Regions from separate parts of the Homo sapiens genome. Here regions 1 and 2 are each linked to region 3. Evidence: promoter capture Hi-C in 16 types of primary human blood cells and fetal thymus (Javierre and others, 2016). All regions are on one chromosome and are shown on one strand. Each heading gives the region's core, a stretch centred on a gene start or on the middle of the fragment in contact. The rest is flanking DNA. Distances are from core to core; before and after follow the strand shown.

Region 1 (3,040 bases), core at 325-2,824, 1.0 Mb before region 3:
CCTATTTGTTGAACTTTGAAACCTTTTGCAGGTTTCTTTTCTTTTCTTTTTTTTTTTTTTTTTGAGATGGAGTCTCACTCTGACGGCTGGAGTGCAGTGGTGCCATCTCGGCTCACTGCAACCTCCACCTCCCAGGTTCAAGCGATTCTCCTGCCTCAGCCTCCAAAATAGCTGGGACTATAAGTGCATGCCACCACGCCTGGATAATTTTTGTATTTTTAGTAGAGATGGGGTTTTACTATGTTGGCCAGGCTGGTCTCGAACTCCTGACCTCAAGTGATCCACCTGCCTTGGCCTTCCAAAGTGCTGGGATTACAGGCATGTGGGCCCCTTTTGCAGGTTTCTTTGAGAGAGTTATTGCTGGTTTGACAGAGAAGAGGGGCTCAATGAACACCTGTCTTCTTAGATGTTTAGGGGAGGGAAAGCAGCACCCAGAGGGCTGAAAGGCAGCCTCGCTGCTCTCCATTTGCCGTTGGAGGACAGACTGGCAAACAGGAACAGGCAGGTTAGAGATGAACAGCCAGGTCAGAAAGTGACTTTGATGGGAGACACTAACAAATGCTGCCTGTCTAGCCCCTGCCCTGTGAGCGAGGGAATGTGGGGCCTGCAGGAACTATAGGCTTTTGCATCTTCCTCAAGAGCAAAAAGCAATTTTTTTTTTGTGCCCTAGTGGATCAAGAAGGAGCTGGTGGCAGCAGGGTGAGTAGAGTGGTTGGGGAATGAATGAGATTTCCCTGTGGTTGAGGCGTGGGATGGAACGGACACACCAGCAGGCTCCCACCGACTCTCCATGCAAAAGAGTCCTGAGGGGCCCAAGCTCACCCATCTCATCATCTGCCAGACCCAGGCACTGCCCATCATGAGTCTCTGCCTTTGCTGCCTGTGGCACTAGGTTGTTGATGTGTAATGTAAATCGTGCCTCCAGTAAAGCAGCCTGACAGCGGGGAGTATGCTGATGAGAACGTGAAAGTGGACTGGGGAGGCTGCAGGGAGCTGGCAGCTTGAAGTCCCAAATAATGGGCCGTGGAGCTTGTCTGGTCCCTTGCGGTGGACTCTTGCCCATCCCACGCCTTGCTCAGTGGGATGAGGAAACCACAGGGTGAGGGATGGAGACTGAGGCTAGAGACCTTAGATACGGCTGTCCCAGAGACTGGTTACTTAGCTCACTGTCCCCTCCAACCAGGCAAGCTGTGGCACAGTGCCCGACATGCTCCTTAGAACGGTGGCAGCATTGCCATGCGCTGCTGTGCAGTAGGAGGACAGTGACGCTTTTTGCACTGCCCTTTCACATCTCTTAGTGCAGGCATTAAGATGAATCCATTTCACGGAGGAAGAGACGGAGCTAAGAGAAACTCAGCCAAAGTCTCCTGGCTTCCCAGTGACGGTGTTGGCCCTGTCTTACCGGATGGGAAACAGCACTCCACCTTACTTTATACCAGCTCTTGTAGCTCTAAAGCTTGTAGTTGTCTATCTTGAAAAATTTGCAGATTTTACACAATTACAGGGGAAAAAAAGAATGGTGACGTATGCTGCTTTATTTATATAGCTAGATTCATACATTTGTGATAGTTCTATTATGTCTCACAGTTACCAAAATTCTTTTTATCTGAGAATGGGGAGTAAGGGCTTTGCAGAAGAAGAGTCCTCTCCCCTCATCCTTATAACTGCTAAATTGAGATCCTCTAATTCACTTAAAGCTTTATTTATTTTTAACTTTTCATTTTGAATTAATTTCAGTTTTTTAAAAAAAGTTGCAAAAATAGTACAAAGAATTTCCATACACTCTTTAACCCAGATTCCCCCAAATGTTACCATCTTATATAACTTAGAGTATGATGATCAAAATCAGGAAATTAACATTGATAAGATACTATGATATAATCTGTAGCCCTAATTCGAGTTTTGCCAGTTTTCCCAATACTGTCCTTTTCTCGTCCAGGATCCAGCCCAGGGCCACACATTGCCTTTGGCTCTCACGTCCCCTTAGTCTCCTATAATCTGCGATAGTTCTTTAATTTTTCCTTGTCTCTCATTACCTTGACATTTTTGAAAAATACTGCCCAGTTATCATCTAGAACGTCCTTAATTTGGGTTTATGTCATGTTTCTTTGAGATCTAAATCCAGGTCATACATTTTTGGCAAGAATATCACAGAAGTGATGTTGTGTCTTTCCCAGAGCATCATATTAAGGAGCACATCATCGATTTGTTTTATTATTGGTGATGACTTTGACTTCCTGTTTAAGGTGGGGACTGCCAGATTTCTCTACCATAAAGTTACTATTTTTACTTTAGTAAAGCATTTTGTGGAGAGATGCTTTCTAGATATCCTGTTTCTCATCATATTCTGCCCTCTGATTTTAGGATTCTTTAATAATTCAGCCTGAAATAATAATTTATTTTTATTTATTTATTTTTTTTGAGACAGGGTCTCACTTTGTCAAACAGGCTGGAGTGCAGCGGTGCAATCAGCTCACTGTAGCCTCGACCACCTGTGCTCAAGCAATCCTCTTACCTCAGCCCCCCAAGTAGCTGGGACAGCCAGGCCCACGCTTGGCTAATTTTTTTTTTTTTTTGTATTTTTTTTAGAGACAGAGTTTCATCATGTTGCCCAGGCTGGTCTCAAACTCCTGAGCTCAAGTGATCCACCCACCTTGGCCTCCTAGAGTGCTAGGATTATAGGCATGAGCCACCGTGCCTGGCCTGAAATAATTATTACTGTGGAATTTAATTCATATATAAATATAAAGACAAATATAGGTATAAAACAAAATTAACAGAACTTTGTAGGCATATTGGCAGGATTGTATCACTTCTTACATCTGGAACACTATTTGCTTGGTTCTCTTCATATTTTGGTCTCATTTAGTACAGTTTAGTCAGTTGTTAAGTACATAAAATGTTGAACACCACATCTTTGCCACTGTGTTTACTTTCAAGAGTGACAATATTTCAGCTGCTGCCTGATCGTTCCATCTGATTCATTCTTGTCTTTCAGAGCAAACAGCCCCACTGGAGCTCAGCACTGCCTTCTAAATTT
Region 2 (2,942 bases), core at 54-2,553, 1.1 Mb before region 3:
CCACCTCGGCCTCCAAAGTGCTGGGATTACAGGCATGAGCCACCGTGCCCAGCCAAAAGTCACTTTCTTTATACCAGATCTTGCTCTTGTTAACTGGACTCTGTAAGTGGCATGTGACTGAACCTGATTTTTGATTACATAAGGGCTAAGAATAATGTGCTTTATCGTATGTTTATTGCAGCACTATTTACAATAGCAAAGACTTGGAACCAACTCAAATGCCCATCAATGATAGACTGGATAAAAAAAATGTGGCACATATACACCATGGAATACTATGTGGCCATAAAAAAGAATGAGTTCATGTCCTTTGCGGGGACGTGGATGAAGCTGGAAACCATCATTCTCAGCAAACTAACACAGGAACAGAAAACCAAACACCACATGTTCTCACTCATAAGTGGGAGTTGAACAATGAGAACACATGGACAAAGGGAGGGGAACATCACACACTGGGGCCTGTCAGGGGGCAGGAGGAGGGACAGCATTAGGAGAAATACCTAATATAGATGCTGGGTTGATGGGTGCAGCAAACCACCATGACACATGTATACCTACGTAACAAACCACATTCTGTATGTGTATCCCAGAACTTAAAGTATAATTAAAAAAAAGTGTGCTTTATTAAAAAGACTTGGGGTCAATTTACGACAGGCTATTAGTATTGTTATTCTCTTGTGTAATTATTGATTTCAGCAAGAATTTATGAGTGTACTATGATTTTTAAAGCAAAACCTATTCTTAAACTAAGAATGCTTTTTGTCCCCTCCCCCATCCTGCCCTTTTTCTTTTGAGACAGAGTCTCACTATCTCCCAGGCTGGAATGCAGTGACACAATCACAGCTCACTTCAGCCTTGATCTCCTTGGGTTCAGGTGATCCTCCTGCCTCAGTCTCCCAGGTAGCTGGGACTCAAGTTCACACCACCACACCTAGCTAAATTTTTGCATTTTTTTTGGAAGAGATAGGGTAAAGTATCTTCTCTGAACATAATGTAATAAAACTAGAAATCAATAACAAGAGGAACCTTGGAAAATATGCATACACATGGAATTAAACAACATGCTCCTTGACCAAGGGGTCAATGAAGAAATTAAGAAGGAAATTTAAAAATTTCTTGAAGCAAATGAAAATGGAAATACAACATACCAAAATCTATAGGGTATGGCAAAAGCAGTACTAAGAGGGAAGTTTATAGCAAAAACACTTATAACAAAAAAGTAGAAATATTCCAAAGAAACAACCCAATAATGCACCTCAAGGAACTAGAAAAGCAAGAACAAACCAAACCCAAAATAGGTGGAAGGAAAGAAATAATAAAGATCAGAGAAGAAATAAGCGAAATTGAGCCAAAAAATACAGAAGATCAACAAAATGAGAAGTTGGTTTTTTGAAAAGATAAACAAAACTGATAAACCTTTAGCTAGACTAAGAAGAAACGTGAGAAGACCCAAATGAATAAAATCAGAAATGAAAAAAGGAGACATAACGACTGAGACTTCAGAAATACGAAGAATCATTAGAGACTATTATGAACAAGCATAAACTAATAAATTGGAAAACCTGGAAGAAATGAATAAATGAAGAAATGAAATTATACTTTTCATCTTCTATTCTATGTACAACATACCAAGAGTGAATTGTGAAGAAATAGAAAACCTCAACAAACCAATAGCTAGTAATGAGATCAAAGGTATAATAAAATGTCTTCCATCAAGGAAAAGCCTAGGACCTGATGGATTCACAGGAGAATTCAAACTAACATTTAAAGAAGAGCTAATATCAATCCTACTCAAACTCTTCAAAAAAAAAAAAAAAAACTGAAGAAGAGGGAATACTTCCAGACCCATAAGGTCAGCGTTACCCTGATACCAAAACTAGACAAGGACACACAACAAAAGAAAACTACAGACGAATATCACTGATGAACATACATGCAAAAATCCTCAACAAAACACTAGCAAAGTGAATCCTATAATACATCAAAGGATCATTGACTATGATCAAGTGGGACTCATCCCAGGGATGCTTCAAAAATGATTAAATTTACAGAAATAAACATGATGTACCATATTAGCAGAATCAATAACAAAAACCATATAATTTTTTCAATAGATGTCAAAAAGTATTTGATAAAATTCATCCCTTTATCATAAAAACCCTCATCAAAATGGATATAGAAGGAACATACCTCAAATTATTAAAGGCCATCTATGTCAAACTCATGGCTAACATCAGACCGAAAGGGGAAAATTTGAAGGCCTTTTCTCTAAAGACTGGTACAAGATAAGAATTGCCCACTTTTACCACTTTTATTCAACATGATACTGGAAGTCCTGGTCAGAGCAACTAGGCAAAGAAAGAATAAAAGGGCATCCAAATTGTAAAGGAAGAAGTCAAGTTAACCTTGTTTGAAGAGGACATGATCTTATTACTTAGAAAGACCTAAAAACTCCACCAAAAAACTGATAGAACATAAAACAAATTCAGTAAAGTTGCAGGTTACAAAATCAACATACAAAAATCAGTAGCATTTATATGTGCCAACAGTGAACAATCTGAAAAATCAAGAAAGTAATCCCATTTACAATAGCTGCAAAAAATATAAAATACCTAGGAATCAATCTAACCAAAGAAATAAAAGTTCTGTACAAGGAAATAAAATTCTGATGAAAGAAACAGAAGAGGACACCAAAAAGTGGAAATATATTCCATGCTCATGGATTGGAAGAATAATATTGTTAAAATGACAATACTACTACAAACTACTTACAGATTCAATGCAATCCCTATCAAAATACCGATGACATTCTTCACAAAAAGAGAAAAAAAAAAAACAAACCTAACATTTATATAGAACCACAAAAGACCCTGAATAGGCAAAGCAATCCTGAGCATAAAGAACAAAGCTGGGTTGGGCATAGTGGCTTATACCTGTAATCT
Region 3 (3,046 bases), core at 490-2,989:
CTGCATTAGAGGGGTACCCAAGCAGGATGGTATGTGTACCAATGCATCATAGAGACTTCAGCCAAACAGCTCTTCTGTTCTCTACAGGACACAGGCATGCATCCTATGGGGCCTAGGCCACAAGAGAGTCAACAGGCTGTACTTGGAATCAACACTAGAGCTAGCTGGCCATGCCTGGATCCCTCTCCCCTCTGGCGAATTCCATCTCTAGGGGCTCCTTGTTCCCTGCCAAACAGGTTTCCATAAAGCACTCATTTGCCAAGAAGTTCCGGGTGTTTCTGACCGTGAACTTAAGCTCAAGTTTCCCCTAAACCTGCTTTTTTTCCATTGGTAACCCTGCACATAATACTCTGAGATTTTGTTTAGAAAAACAGACTGAAATTTCTTTAGGGCTGTGTGCATGTATTTGGGGCATGAATGAATGTGCCTATTAGCTCATTCTGTTCTAAACCCTATGATTCCCCGGATGTCACGTGCCACCTGTTCCTACTGACTAGGTACCAGGCACTGAAACCACCATTGCAAAATTATAACTGAGATGGTGAAAGGGATCTGACCTAACCGACTCCATCTTGCTTCTCATCTCCAAGCTGTCTTTGTTCATTCCTAGGCATAGGCCAAACTAACTTTGGGGGGAACTTAGTTTATAGTGTAGCTTTGAAACAAAGACAATACCAGCCCTTTCCCAAACAAACCCCCTTCTTGCCCAGGAACTAGACTGCCTTTTCAGGACTAACAAATTAGCCACAAAATTAGAAATTATGGTTTAGGAGTCATGCAGCTAGAGGCTGCAAGATTCTAAACCTCAAATTGCTCCTGGGGATAACATCAACTATTGTAAAACCTAAGATCAGTGCTTAAGATATTTCACAGACACTGCACTCGATGGATCAGCTGGCACCACCCAGATGAATAAACTGGCTCATCTGGTCTTATGACCCCCACCTGGCAACTGACTCAGCACAAGAGGACAGCTTTGACTCCCTGTGAGTTCATCTCCTAGCCTACCAATCAGCACTCCCGACTCACTGACCCCTACCCACCAAATTATCCTTAAAAACTCTGATCCCTGAAAGCTAGGGAGACTGATTTGAGTAATAATAAAACTCCGGTCTCCCTCACAGCCAGCTTTGTGTGAATTACTCTTTCTCTATTGCAATTCCCCTGTCTTGATAAATCGACTCTGTTTAGGCAGTGAGCAAGGTGAACCTATTGGGCGGTTACAGCACTTTAACCATAAACCTTATGAGAAAGTGCCATTTCTCCATTTCACAGGTGAGAAAACTGAGGATTAAAAAGGTTACTCAAATAACTTTCCTAAGGATAAATGTGTGAGTCTTCTAACTCACACATTTATCAATGAACAAAACCGGATTCACAAGTACACTGGAGACTTTACATTTTGGGCAAGGATATTAAGCTAACGGGAGTGAGACAACCCTTCTTCAGTAGAAAAAAGGCGAGCAGCAGGCGCTGCTTTAGTTACCAGCACTTTGCTTCCTCCGTCTCCCCGCGCCAGGCATCGGGCATCCCAACCTCGACTTTGGCCTTCAACTTGGCGCGCTCCGGAGCTAGAGCTCTGCGGTAGCGAATCTGATCGCGTGTCCATGCCCGCCCCCTGTCCCGCCTCCTGGCTTTTGACCCCGTCCTTGGTCCCGCCCCGGGCCCTGGCTCCTGGCCCCGCCCTTGGTCCCGCCCCGGGCCCCTGGCTCCTGGCCCCGCCCCAGCCCAGGCAGGTCACTGCGCCATTTCCTGTCCAAAGCTGGGCGAATCAGGTCGGTGCCGCGGGGTACCCCGGAATCCCCCCTGGGAGCTGGTCCTGCACTGGCCTTCAGAGCCGAGCAGAGGACGCTGCTTTGGGCCCCAGAGCATGGGAAGGTCTTGGCTGCGGTCTGGGACGGCTGCGGTCTGGGACCTGCATGGAGGGCCCGGGACTTGCGGACGCCTGGGAGCGGTTGCTGGGCAACAGTGCGTGCGGCCTGGCCTCTTTGCGCCCGGCGGGCAGCGCGCGTCTGGGGCAGGCTCCGCGCGGGGCTCGGGCACAGGTCCCCGCTGCCGCAGCCCTACCGAGTGAAGCACTGAGCGCGGCGCCGCTTCGCCATCACCTGGCTCTGGCCCTCTCACCCTAGCGTAGGGGGGCACTGGCCAGGCAGTGAGGACCCTGAGATCCATGCCCTGGGAGACAGAGGTTGTCTCCTGTCCATGCACCCGCGCGCCTGCCTTCTAACCTTCATACCGTTGGGCAGATTAATTCACTGGACTAGGCCTCTGTTCCGTGGGAGTTGAAAAGATTTGACCTGGAAGAAACCCTAGCGATTATTCAGTTAAGCCGCAACCCCACCCCCTGTTTTATATAGGTAAGGGTGCTTCACGGTGAGGACTCGTCGCGTGCCTGGTGCTTTACATCAGTCCCCAGAATAGTCCTCGTAGTTTCTCTCTTACTGTTCCCATAGTATGGGTGAGGACTCTGAGGCTCGGAGAGGTTGTGAATTTAGCCAGAATCACACAGCTTGTAACTGGTGGAGATGAGGACACTGAGACTCGATTAAATCACTCGTAGTTTGTTCGTGGCAGATTACGTGTTAGAAGCGTGTTACACTACTATGAAACCTGGCCATAAATGAGAATCACCTGGAAAGTGTTTAAAATCTATATTCGTGTCTGGGCAATGTCCCGGGTTTACTGACTTGAAATCTCGGGCTACGGCTGAGGAAGCTGTATATTTAACAATCTTCCCGATGATTTTTATGATCTGTGGATGAACCACTGAGTACTGCTGGGTACACCACGGGGCCTTCTCGCACAAAAACAACTGTAAAATAATATCTGAGGTACCTAGAGCAGAAGAGACGCTGGTGAGCATGGTAACATTATGTTCTAATCCCTTCAGTCAATTTGTACCCTTTCTTCACTCTTCAGAAACAAGCCAAAGGCAGATTTTAAACAAGTATGGACATTTAGATGCAAATTGCCCCAAGTTTGTTACCTGTCACACATCCACATTTAAGCTTCTGACTAGACCAGCCTGTCATGATCAAAGTCAGGT

What was found. The method cuts DNA at HindIII sites, captures the fragments that hold promoters and counts their contacts. A CHiCAGO score of 5 or more calls a contact.
Region 1: a fragment that was not itself captured here is called in contact with the fragment with the promoter of TTC12 in region 3 in 4 of 17 cell types (total CD8 T cells, naive B cells, non-activated CD4 T cells and 1 more); the score reaches 10.8 in total CD8 T cells.
Region 2: a contact is called between a fragment that was not itself captured here and the fragment with the promoter of TTC12 in region 3, in 3 of 17 cell types (monocytes, naive B cells and total CD4 T cells). The highest score is 5.7, in monocytes.

The regions. Positions count from the first base shown.
Region 1 is chr11:112,299,345-112,302,384 of GRCh38, forward strand. The region is part of intron 2 of LINC02762 (long intergenic non-protein coding RNA 2762); the gene reads left to right. Among named protein-coding and RNA genes, the nearest start is that of LINC02762, 30 kb to the left of the region's middle. The HindIII fragment of the contact is 241 bases long and covers 1,455-1,695 here.
Region 2 is chr11:112,242,738-112,245,679 of GRCh38, forward strand. No RefSeq gene overlaps it. Among named protein-coding and RNA genes, the nearest start is that of PLET1, 17 kb to the right of the region's middle. The HindIII fragment of the contact is 7,112 bases long and covers 1-2,942 here.
Region 3 is chr11:113,312,844-113,315,889 of GRCh38, forward strand. TTC12 (tetratricopeptide repeat domain 12) reads left to right here and starts at 1,740. Exons shown (of 22, transcript NM_017868.4): 1 at 1,740-1,775. It overlaps TTC12-DT (TTC12 divergent transcript), which reads right to left and starts at 1,613. Exons shown (of 5, transcript NR_199709.1): 1 at 1,487-1,613. RefSeq lists silencers at 1,551-1,800, 1,824-2,118, 2,011-2,110. The HindIII fragment of the contact is 13,389 bases long and covers 1-3,006 here.